3 separate regions of the Homo sapiens genome follow, and all the other regions are linked to region 2. Evidence: promoter capture Hi-C in human tissues and cell types (Jung and others, 2019). All regions are on one chromosome and are shown on one strand. Each heading gives the region's core, a stretch centred on a gene start or on the middle of the fragment in contact. The rest is flanking DNA. Distances are from core to core; before and after follow the strand shown. Region 1 holds the start of RSPH6A (radial spoke head 6 homolog A). Region 2 holds the start of PGLYRP1 (peptidoglycan recognition protein 1). Region 3 overlaps IGFL2 (IGF like family member 2).

Region 1 (2,700 bases), core at 7-2,506, 210 kb before region 2:
GGGAGGCTGAAGCAGAAGAATCACTTGAACTTGGGAAGGAGAGGTTGCCCTAAGCCAAGACCACGCCACTGTGCTCCAGCCTGGGTGACAGGGTGAGACTATGTCTGGGGGAAAAAAAAAGCAAGAGGGCTTGGGGAGCCAAATCACGTGTTCTGGAATCCTGACTCTGCCATATCCTAGCTGTGTAGTTTTGGGTAAGCGACCCAACTTCTCTGTGTCTCGGTCTCCTCCTCTGTAAAGTAGGATGAGCTGATGTGCTCATCTCCGGTGAGAATTAGGTGAGTGTGTGCAGTGCCAGCACATGTCTGGGAAGTGAATGCTAGCTGTTGTTGGCATTGATTCCGACTCAGCTGAATTAGAGTCACTGGTTTTCCATGAGGGATGATCCCTTGTCTGACTGACTGAGGCAGGCACTTCGGGTGGGGCCCCTCCCTGCCTGGGTCCCCCACCCGCCCCACTCCTAGCCCCTGCTCACAGGCTGAGGTCGCAATTGATGCTGGTCTGCAGCAGGTAGGCCTTGGCGTTCTGCACGGCCAGCTCCAGAGGCTCGGGCTCAGGCACCTGGGCACTGTAGTGTGGGAAGCCCAGCTCAGAGGGCAAGAACTGAAGGGCAGGGTCATCCCTTATGTAAGGCCCGTGCTGGGCACCTTCAGAGAACTGGTCTGTCTGGTAGAGGTTGAACTGGCCCAAGGGGTTGACTGGGGGCTCCTGGAAGGTGGGGTCCAGTTGCTGGAACAGGCTGCTTTGGCCCTGCTGGAGCCGCTGCAGCATTAGGCTGGTGGTGAGCTCGGCGACCTGCATCCTGCTTTCATCAGAGTAAGGCTGAGGCTGGAACTCTGAGGGAAAGCCCGTGTTCACAGATGGGTACTCCATGCCACCCAGCCGGGCTTCCTCAGCCTGGAAGACCTGGGGCATCAGCAAGTTCTCCTGTTGGGACAGGCTGCCCCTCTGTGACCAACCAGGGGCGTTTCGCTGGGCGTCTGGAGGTATCTGCTGCCTCTCCTCGGGGTCCGCTGCCAGGGCCTGAGCTTGGTCCCGACTGTGCCGCCTCTGGGAGGCCTGAGAAGTCCTCCGGCCCGGAGGCTGCTGGGCAGGGCGCTCAGGGTAGGGCGGCAGGTCTCCCATGGTTCGCCAGGAGGCACAGATCTCTAGGAGAAAGGCTTGCAGACAAGGAGGCCAAGCGAGAGCCACCTGTCGACACCGCCGGTTTCTGAGCACCGAGAGAGGGGGCCGTTACCCGTGGAGGGCGCGGGGAGCGGGCCAGGGTGGGTTCCGCGCAGGCTCTGGGCGCGCACTCCCGATCCCGCGCAGCCCCACGGTGGACGTCGCGCCAGACTCGAGACGGCACCCGCGCCCCAGGCCCGCCATCCCTTTTTTTTTTTCTTTTCAGTAACTTGCCCAAGTTCACATCTTTTATTTCTTTTTAAGGCAAAGCACCCGCAGGTCAAGCCCCGCCCCGTCCCCCAGCCCCGAGTCCCTGTCCCACCCCCTTTCCCCCTCGAGCCCCGTCAGCTGTTCCCCTTGGCCTCGGGTTCCCTGGCGTCCTCGGCAGCCGGGCTGGGAGTCTTCATAGCATCTTCTCCAACAGGTGCGAGGGTCTGGGGGCTCCGCTCCTCCTTCAAGGTCAGCCCGCCCGCTGCCGTCTCCTGGTGACCGGGGAAGGAAAGGGCAGCCGGGTGGAGGGCGCGGTCACCTCCACGCTCCCCTTCAGGCCCTGCCCCCTGATGGCCCCTCCTCCCCCACCTTCACCCCGGCCCAGATCCGGCTTCTTCCTTCGCAGCGGAGGCTGCTCTCCCTACCTTGGGTAGGGGGCCCTCGAGACTAGAGTCCAACAGCGCGGCCTCGGTCAGCCCCGAGTCGTCATCCATGCTGATGAAGATGCCCGGGGTCTCGCACTCAGGCCCCTCCTCCCGGAAATCCATGGCTTCCTCAGACGGGGGCGGGCCTGGCCGGGCCGACGGAGAGGGAGAGGGGGAGGAAGAGGAGGGGGCTCCCACTCCTCCCGGCTTCAGCTTCTGTTCCTCCTCCAGCTGCCGCTTTAAGGCCTTCTCCTGGGCCAGTCGCAGGCCGATGAGGTCCTGAGGGGGCCGGGGTGCTGGGGCCGGGGCCAAGGTCAGGGGCTCCAGATCATCCTGGGGATAGGGAGGGCCACACAGAAGCTCAGAGGTGGGTGGCTCAGAGGACGGCCGGAAAGAGAAGGAACCACCCTGAGGTGGTCTTTGAGTTCTTCACCAAGAGCATGGGGAGGAAGGGGCAGTTGTCCCCCAGACCCCCAACTCCCAGCAGGAGCATCCCCTGGGAGACGGGTGGCCCAGAGGCAGGGGTGGCCTGAGTCTCTCGGGGTCAGGAGGAGGCCATGGTGAGCCTTGCTGGCTTGGGGTAGGGGGTGGGAGTCTGGGGATCCAGATGGGTGGGCTGCAGGGCCCTCACCTCCTCCAAGGGCCCCGCAGGCGCCTCCTTGGCCTCTGGCTCCTGCTTGCCGCTGGCCTCCAAGATGGTCATGATGGAGTTAGGGATGTGAGCTTGCTGGGTGGAGAGCAGGAAGGGGGCGCTGGGGGCAGCTCTGGCACAGAGACCCCATTTGCACACCTCAGGTCCGGGGGCCCTAACCCTCCAGAACTCCCAGCAGTGCAGGGCCTTCTTGTGTCCGCCTCCATCCAGTCCCCACCAACCAGAGGGACCCAGGGGGCCGCCCACCGC
Region 2 (2,700 bases), core at 23-2,522:
CTGGTCCTGCCCTTTCCTCATTTCATTCCGCTCGCCCGGCTGTGTTCAGCCACCCTGTCCTTCCCACAGGACCCGCCCACTCAACCCCGTTGGCTTTGCCCCCAGCACCCCCTGCCACCTGCAGGCCTCTGTCTGCTCCCCCATCCCAGAGCCAAGGCAGCCACTCTCAGGGAGGCTTTCCCTTGCCCCACCCTTCCAAGGAGCCTGTGTGGGTCTGGTCCCAGCCTGAGGTCACCCTCCCTCACCTCTTTCCTTTTATCCATCGCCTCTATCACCGTCTGAATTCACCTGTGGCCTTGGCTTGTTTCTCCCTGCTGGTCTTTCAACCCCAGGAGGCTAGAGTGGCACCGTTCTCCATGCCACATCTGGCACACTGCCTGGCACATAGTAGGTGCCTAATGGTAATAGCCCGTGGCTTTGCGGGCCCCCGTGTGCCAGGCAGTTCCTAGGTGCTTTGCCTGTATTGGCTCATATAAGGAGCAGATGGGCCGCGATTCCATTGACTTTGCCGAGGAGGAAGCTGAAGCCGGGAGGACCCGCCCCAGGCCTCAGCCAGCAATAAGATGAGCTGACCCTGGAACCCAGCTCCGCACTGAGTCAGCCTGGTTTTCCGCCTCCTAACAAAGGCACCAGGCATCAGGAAGGGGCGCCTTCATAAGGCGTCGCGGACACCTTGGTGTGTGTTAGGCAAAGCCTGCCCCTTCTTCCCGGGAGCGGGAGCGGGGCTTGGATTTCAGCCCATCCCCCCTTCTCACGCATCTTTGTGCTGTGAGCACCTGCCCCGGCCCACGTGGTGACCCGAGGAAGAAATGACCTTGTGAGGTTCAGTAAGCTGCTCAGGGTGTCAGCCAGGTGGCCTCAGCACCAGGCCTAGAAATGGTCCCGCTGGCGGGCACTTGCACACCTTTGCCTCTGGGATCCCCAGTCCAGCCCGTGCCCCCCTGCCACACTCACTTGTAGCCCACGTCGCACCAGCCCAGTGTCTTCATGTGGTAGTGCTGCACATTCCGGGCCTGCTGCTGGCACGAGGCGGGGGTGTTGCAGCTGCTGCCCGCCGTGTGCGATACCACCACATAGCGTAAGGGCAGGCTCAGGTGCTGGGCGCACTCTGATGCCAGGGCCTTCCACTCGTTCCGGGGCACTATGGGGCTGCAGCAGGCCGGGTCTTCTGTCTCCTGAGCCGCTCCGAGTCGAAGGAGGCTGGGGAGAGCCCAGGCAAGCAGCATAGAGCGGCGGGACATAGTGGCAGGGCGGCAGGGTCCGGGAGACCGCTAGGAGCGCCCGGTGGAGGGGCCGCCTTTATCTGCTGGGGGATTCCAGGAGTGGCCCGGAAAGTCTTGCTTCACACCCTGCTGGGACTTCCTGCTGGCCCAGCAGACCCCAGACTCAGCTTCCTTCTCTGGCTGGGCCAGGGCGGGATGCACTGTGGTTGGGGTCTGGGTCACGCCCACGGCAATGACAGGCCCCCTCGCTCAGCAGGGAGGGACGCACAGGCCCCTGGGCGCTTCGCCCCGCCGTTTCTGGAAGACCCGGGGCCGGGATCCCGGTCCTGCTTGTCTCTCCTCTCAGTGGAACATTGAACAACTCAACAGGAACTTACATCGCAGAGGCCCGGGGCATTGGCACATCTTCTCCCCGCAAGGACTGAGGTAACAAAGCTACCCATTTTAAAAACACTTCCTTCCCCCAGGTCCAAGCCTGATGCCATTTACGCTTGCAGCAAACTCAAGAGGTGAGTATCTGGAAGTCCATTTCACAGTGGAGTAAACTGAGGTTGAGAGCAGGGAAGTCACGGGCTGAGACACCGGAGGCACTGGAGCCCCGCGTCTAGAGCCAGGCTGCCTGCATGTGAATCCTGGATATGCAGTGTGTGAGAGCCTGCAAGTGGTTTTTAAAAATGTGTATTTAAAATTTTTTTTTTAATTTTCTATTTTATAAATAATATTTTCCTTTTTTTTTTTTTTTTTTTTTGAGATGGAGTTTTGCTCTTGTCACCCAGGCTGGAGTGCAATGGTGCGATCTTGGGCCACTGCAACCTCCGCCTCCTGGCTTCAAGTGATTCTCCTGCCTCAGCCTCCTGAGTAGCTGGGATTACAAGTGCACACCACCACGCCCAGCTAATTTTTATATTTTTGGTAGAGACGGGGTTTTGCCATGTTGGCCTGGCTGGTGTCGAACTCCTGACCTCAGGTGAGCCACCTGCCAGTGTTCCAGAGTGCTGGGATTACTATAGGCATGAGCCACCGTGCCTGACCTGTGTGGTGTGTTTTCATCTTCTGTGTTCTGCCTTCTCATATACATTGTACTCATGCTGTTACTGAATTGTGCACCAGGCATCTGTAGCACTTTTCAGAAATTATCATATACTCAACGACAAGCTTGCCAGATCCATGTTATTATTAACCCCTCTTACAGTTGACGGAACTGAGGCCCGGGGGGATGATCACATACAGGAGGTGATGAAGCCAGGGTTTGGCTACAGGCTTTCTGCCTGCAGAGTTATAAACCGTATTCTCCTCCCTACAAACTTATATAAGGACATTAAAAAAAAAAATCAAAACCATGTGCATCAATTTACCTTTTGTCACCTAATATTTCATGGGCATCTCACCAGGGCAGTACATCTAATTCTAATTTATTCTTTATAATAGTTGCACAATATGCTATAGTATCAGTTCAGCATTGTGGATCTTTTAGTTT
Region 3 (2,700 bases), core at 138-2,637, 130 kb after region 2:
AGCATAGAGCTTCAATTACACAGAGTTGGCTGGGGATGTGGGGAATAGGGATAATTTGTGGCTTAAATGCCCTCAGACTCTCGCTGCTCTATACAGATTGAGTGGAATTTCTTGAATAAACATTTCTTTATTTGCTGTATGCCCTTAGGACAATTTCCTGAGACTTAACTAGTTGTTTTTATAAAAAAAATAATTTTCATCAGTTAAATGGTTGTTTTGCCGGGAGGAAGGCACCCATGCTCTTCACACTGACTTCTGGAAGTCCTGCTTTATAGTTTGAAATATTTTGCATTTAAGTCTATGATCCATTTCAAATTAATTTTCACATTTTGTGTGAGATAAGGGTCAAGATACATTCCCCCCCAATATAGATATCTATTAAAAGGACTAATCTTTGCCTGGTGAGTTGTAGTGGTACAATTGTGATAAATCACTGATTGTCTGTGTGTGGATCTGTATCTGAACTCTGTTTCATTCCATTGATAAAATTATTTATCTTTCGCAATACCACGCTCTAAATTATTATAGTTTTATGAAACTTCCTGATCTGTTAGGGTAAGTCGTATAACTTTGTTTAGTTTCTTCAATATTGTATTGGCTATCTTGTCATTTTCATTTTCTGGTAATTTTTAAAAAAAATATGTATAGAGTCAGGGTGTCACTGTGTTGCCCAGGCTGGTCTTGAACTCCTGGGATCAAGCAATCCTCTTGCCTCAGCCTCCCAAAGTGCTAGGATTACAGGTGTGAGCCACCGTGCCCAACCATCACTTTCTGATAAATTTTAGAATCACTTTGTTAACTTATACAAAACCTTGCTGTAATATTTATTGAGTTTGCATTGAATTTATCGATCAATTTGGGGAACACTGACATCTTTGTTATATTGAGTCTTCCAAAGCATAAACCTGGTATGTTTCCCATTTACTTAGGTGTTCTTTAGTATCTTTCAGCAGAGTTTTGCAGAGGTTTCTCACCTTTCTTTAGATTTAATTCTAGGTATTTGTTATTTTTGATATCATTGTAAATGGTAATGGAGAATTGGCTTCTATCTAGAGCCGTAAAACAAACCTCAACAAGTTCTAAAGTATTGAAGTTTAACAGAGTAAGTTGTCTGACCATAATTTGATCAAGCTAATGACTACAGAAAGATCTCCAAGCACTTGGCAGCTAAGCAACACAACTCTAAATAACTCATGGTTTAAAGATGAGTCTCAAAGATTTTTAAAACTATATTTAACTTAATGAAATGAAAATACAATATATCAAAATTTATGGAACATATATAAAGCAGTGCTAAGTGTGAAACTTATTGTGCTAAATAGTTGTATTAGAAAAAAGGAAAAATCAATAATCTAAGCTCCCACATCAAGAAGCTAGGAAAAAATAAAAGAGCAAAATAAACCCAAAGCAAGAAGGAAGGAAATAATAAAGAGGAGAGCAGGAGTCGATAAAATTGAAAACAGAAAAACAGTCTAGAAAATCAATGAAATAAAGAGTTAATTCTTTGAAAAGATCAATAATCTTTTGATAGTTTTAGCAAAACTCTCAAAAATTCAAAGAGAAGACACAAATTGTCAGTATCAGGAATGAGACAGGAGATATAGGTTTTGCAGACACTAAAAGAATAATAGTGGAAAACTAGGAATAACTCTACACAATTTGACAACTTAGATGAAATGGACCACCCATTTAAAAGCACAAATGATCACAACACACCCAATATGAAATACATCATTTTAGTAGCCTTATAACTATTAAGGAAATAGAATTCAGAATTTAAAATATCTCCTAAAAAGGAAATCTCCAAGCCCAGATGGTTGCACCTGAGAATCTAACAAATGTTTAAAAAGAAATTGACACCAATTCTGCACAATCTCATCCAGAGAATAGAATAGGAGGGAATTCAATTCATTTCATAAAATCAGAGTTATTTTGCTACTAAAATCATAAAAAGACAAACAAGAACAATGACAACAACAAAGCAATGAAACTATAGACCAATATCCTTCATGCAAAAATCCTTGACAAAATATTTGTAAATTAAATTCAGCAATATAAAAAAATACTTACACATCATGCCTATGTAGGGCTTATTCCAGAATGTAAGCCTGGCAGAATATTTCAAAAATCACTCTCAGTGTAATCCATCATATTAACATGCTAAAGAAGAAAAATGACATGATCACATCAATTGATGCTGAAAAAGCATCTGATAAAATTTAACACCCATTCGTGATTTTAAAAACTCCCAGAAAAACAGGAATAGGGGGAATTTCCTCAACTCGATAAAGTCCATCTACAAAAACCCTACAACTAATATAATAAGTAATGGTGAAAAAGTGAATGCTTTCCACCTAAGACTGAGCAAAGGAGAGGAAGTCTGCTTTCACCATTCTTATTCAGTGTATTGCTGGACATTCTAACCAGGGCAATAAGTCAAGGAAAAAAAGAATTACAATTTATACAGATTGGAAAGGAAGCAATAAAACTGTTCCTATATTTGTAGGCCACACAACTGTCTATGTAAACAGTCCCAAGGAATCTAAAAATGTACTCCTATAACTAATAAGTGAGTTTAGCAAGGTTTCAGAATGCAAGATCAACATAGAAAAAATCAATCGTGTTTCTTTATACCAATAATGAACATGTGGACATTGAAATTAATAACAAAATAGCACCTGCAATTGTTCAAAAATGAAA

Evidence for each region. The method cuts DNA at HindIII sites, captures the fragments that hold promoters and counts their contacts. A contact is called where the count stands out against the background at its distance.
Region 1: the fragment with the promoter of RSPH6A here is called in contact with the fragment with the promoter of PGLYRP1 in region 2 in 1 of the 25 tissues and cell types used here (dorsolateral prefrontal cortex).
Region 3: a fragment that was not itself captured here is called in contact with the fragment with the promoter of PGLYRP1 in region 2 in 1 of the 25 tissues and cell types used here (bladder).

Annotation. Positions count from the first base shown.
Region 1 is chr19:45,814,052-45,816,751 of GRCh38, forward strand. It overlaps RSPH6A (radial spoke head 6 homolog A), which reads right to left and starts at 1,257. Exons shown (of 6, transcript NM_030785.4): 1 at 476-1,257. The coding sequence starts at 1,125. It overlaps SYMPK (symplekin scaffold protein), which reads right to left. Exons shown (of 27, transcript NM_004819.3): 25 at 2,431-2,526; 26 at 1,800-2,132; 27 at 1,359-1,646. The coding sequence ends at 1,509. The HindIII fragment of the contact is 35,300 bases long and covers 1-2,700 here.
Region 2 is chr19:46,021,781-46,024,480 of GRCh38, forward strand. It overlaps PGLYRP1 (peptidoglycan recognition protein 1), which reads right to left and starts at 1,273. Exons shown (of 3, transcript NM_005091.3): 1 at 955-1,273. The coding sequence starts at 1,241. RefSeq lists an enhancer at 1-766. The HindIII fragment of the contact is 20,258 bases long and covers 1-2,700 here.
Region 3 is chr19:46,155,354-46,158,053 of GRCh38, forward strand. The region is part of intron 1 of IGFL2 (IGF like family member 2); the gene reads left to right. Among named protein-coding and RNA genes, the nearest start is that of IGFL2, 8.5 kb to the left of the region's middle. The HindIII fragment of the contact is 4,857 bases long and covers 1-2,700 here.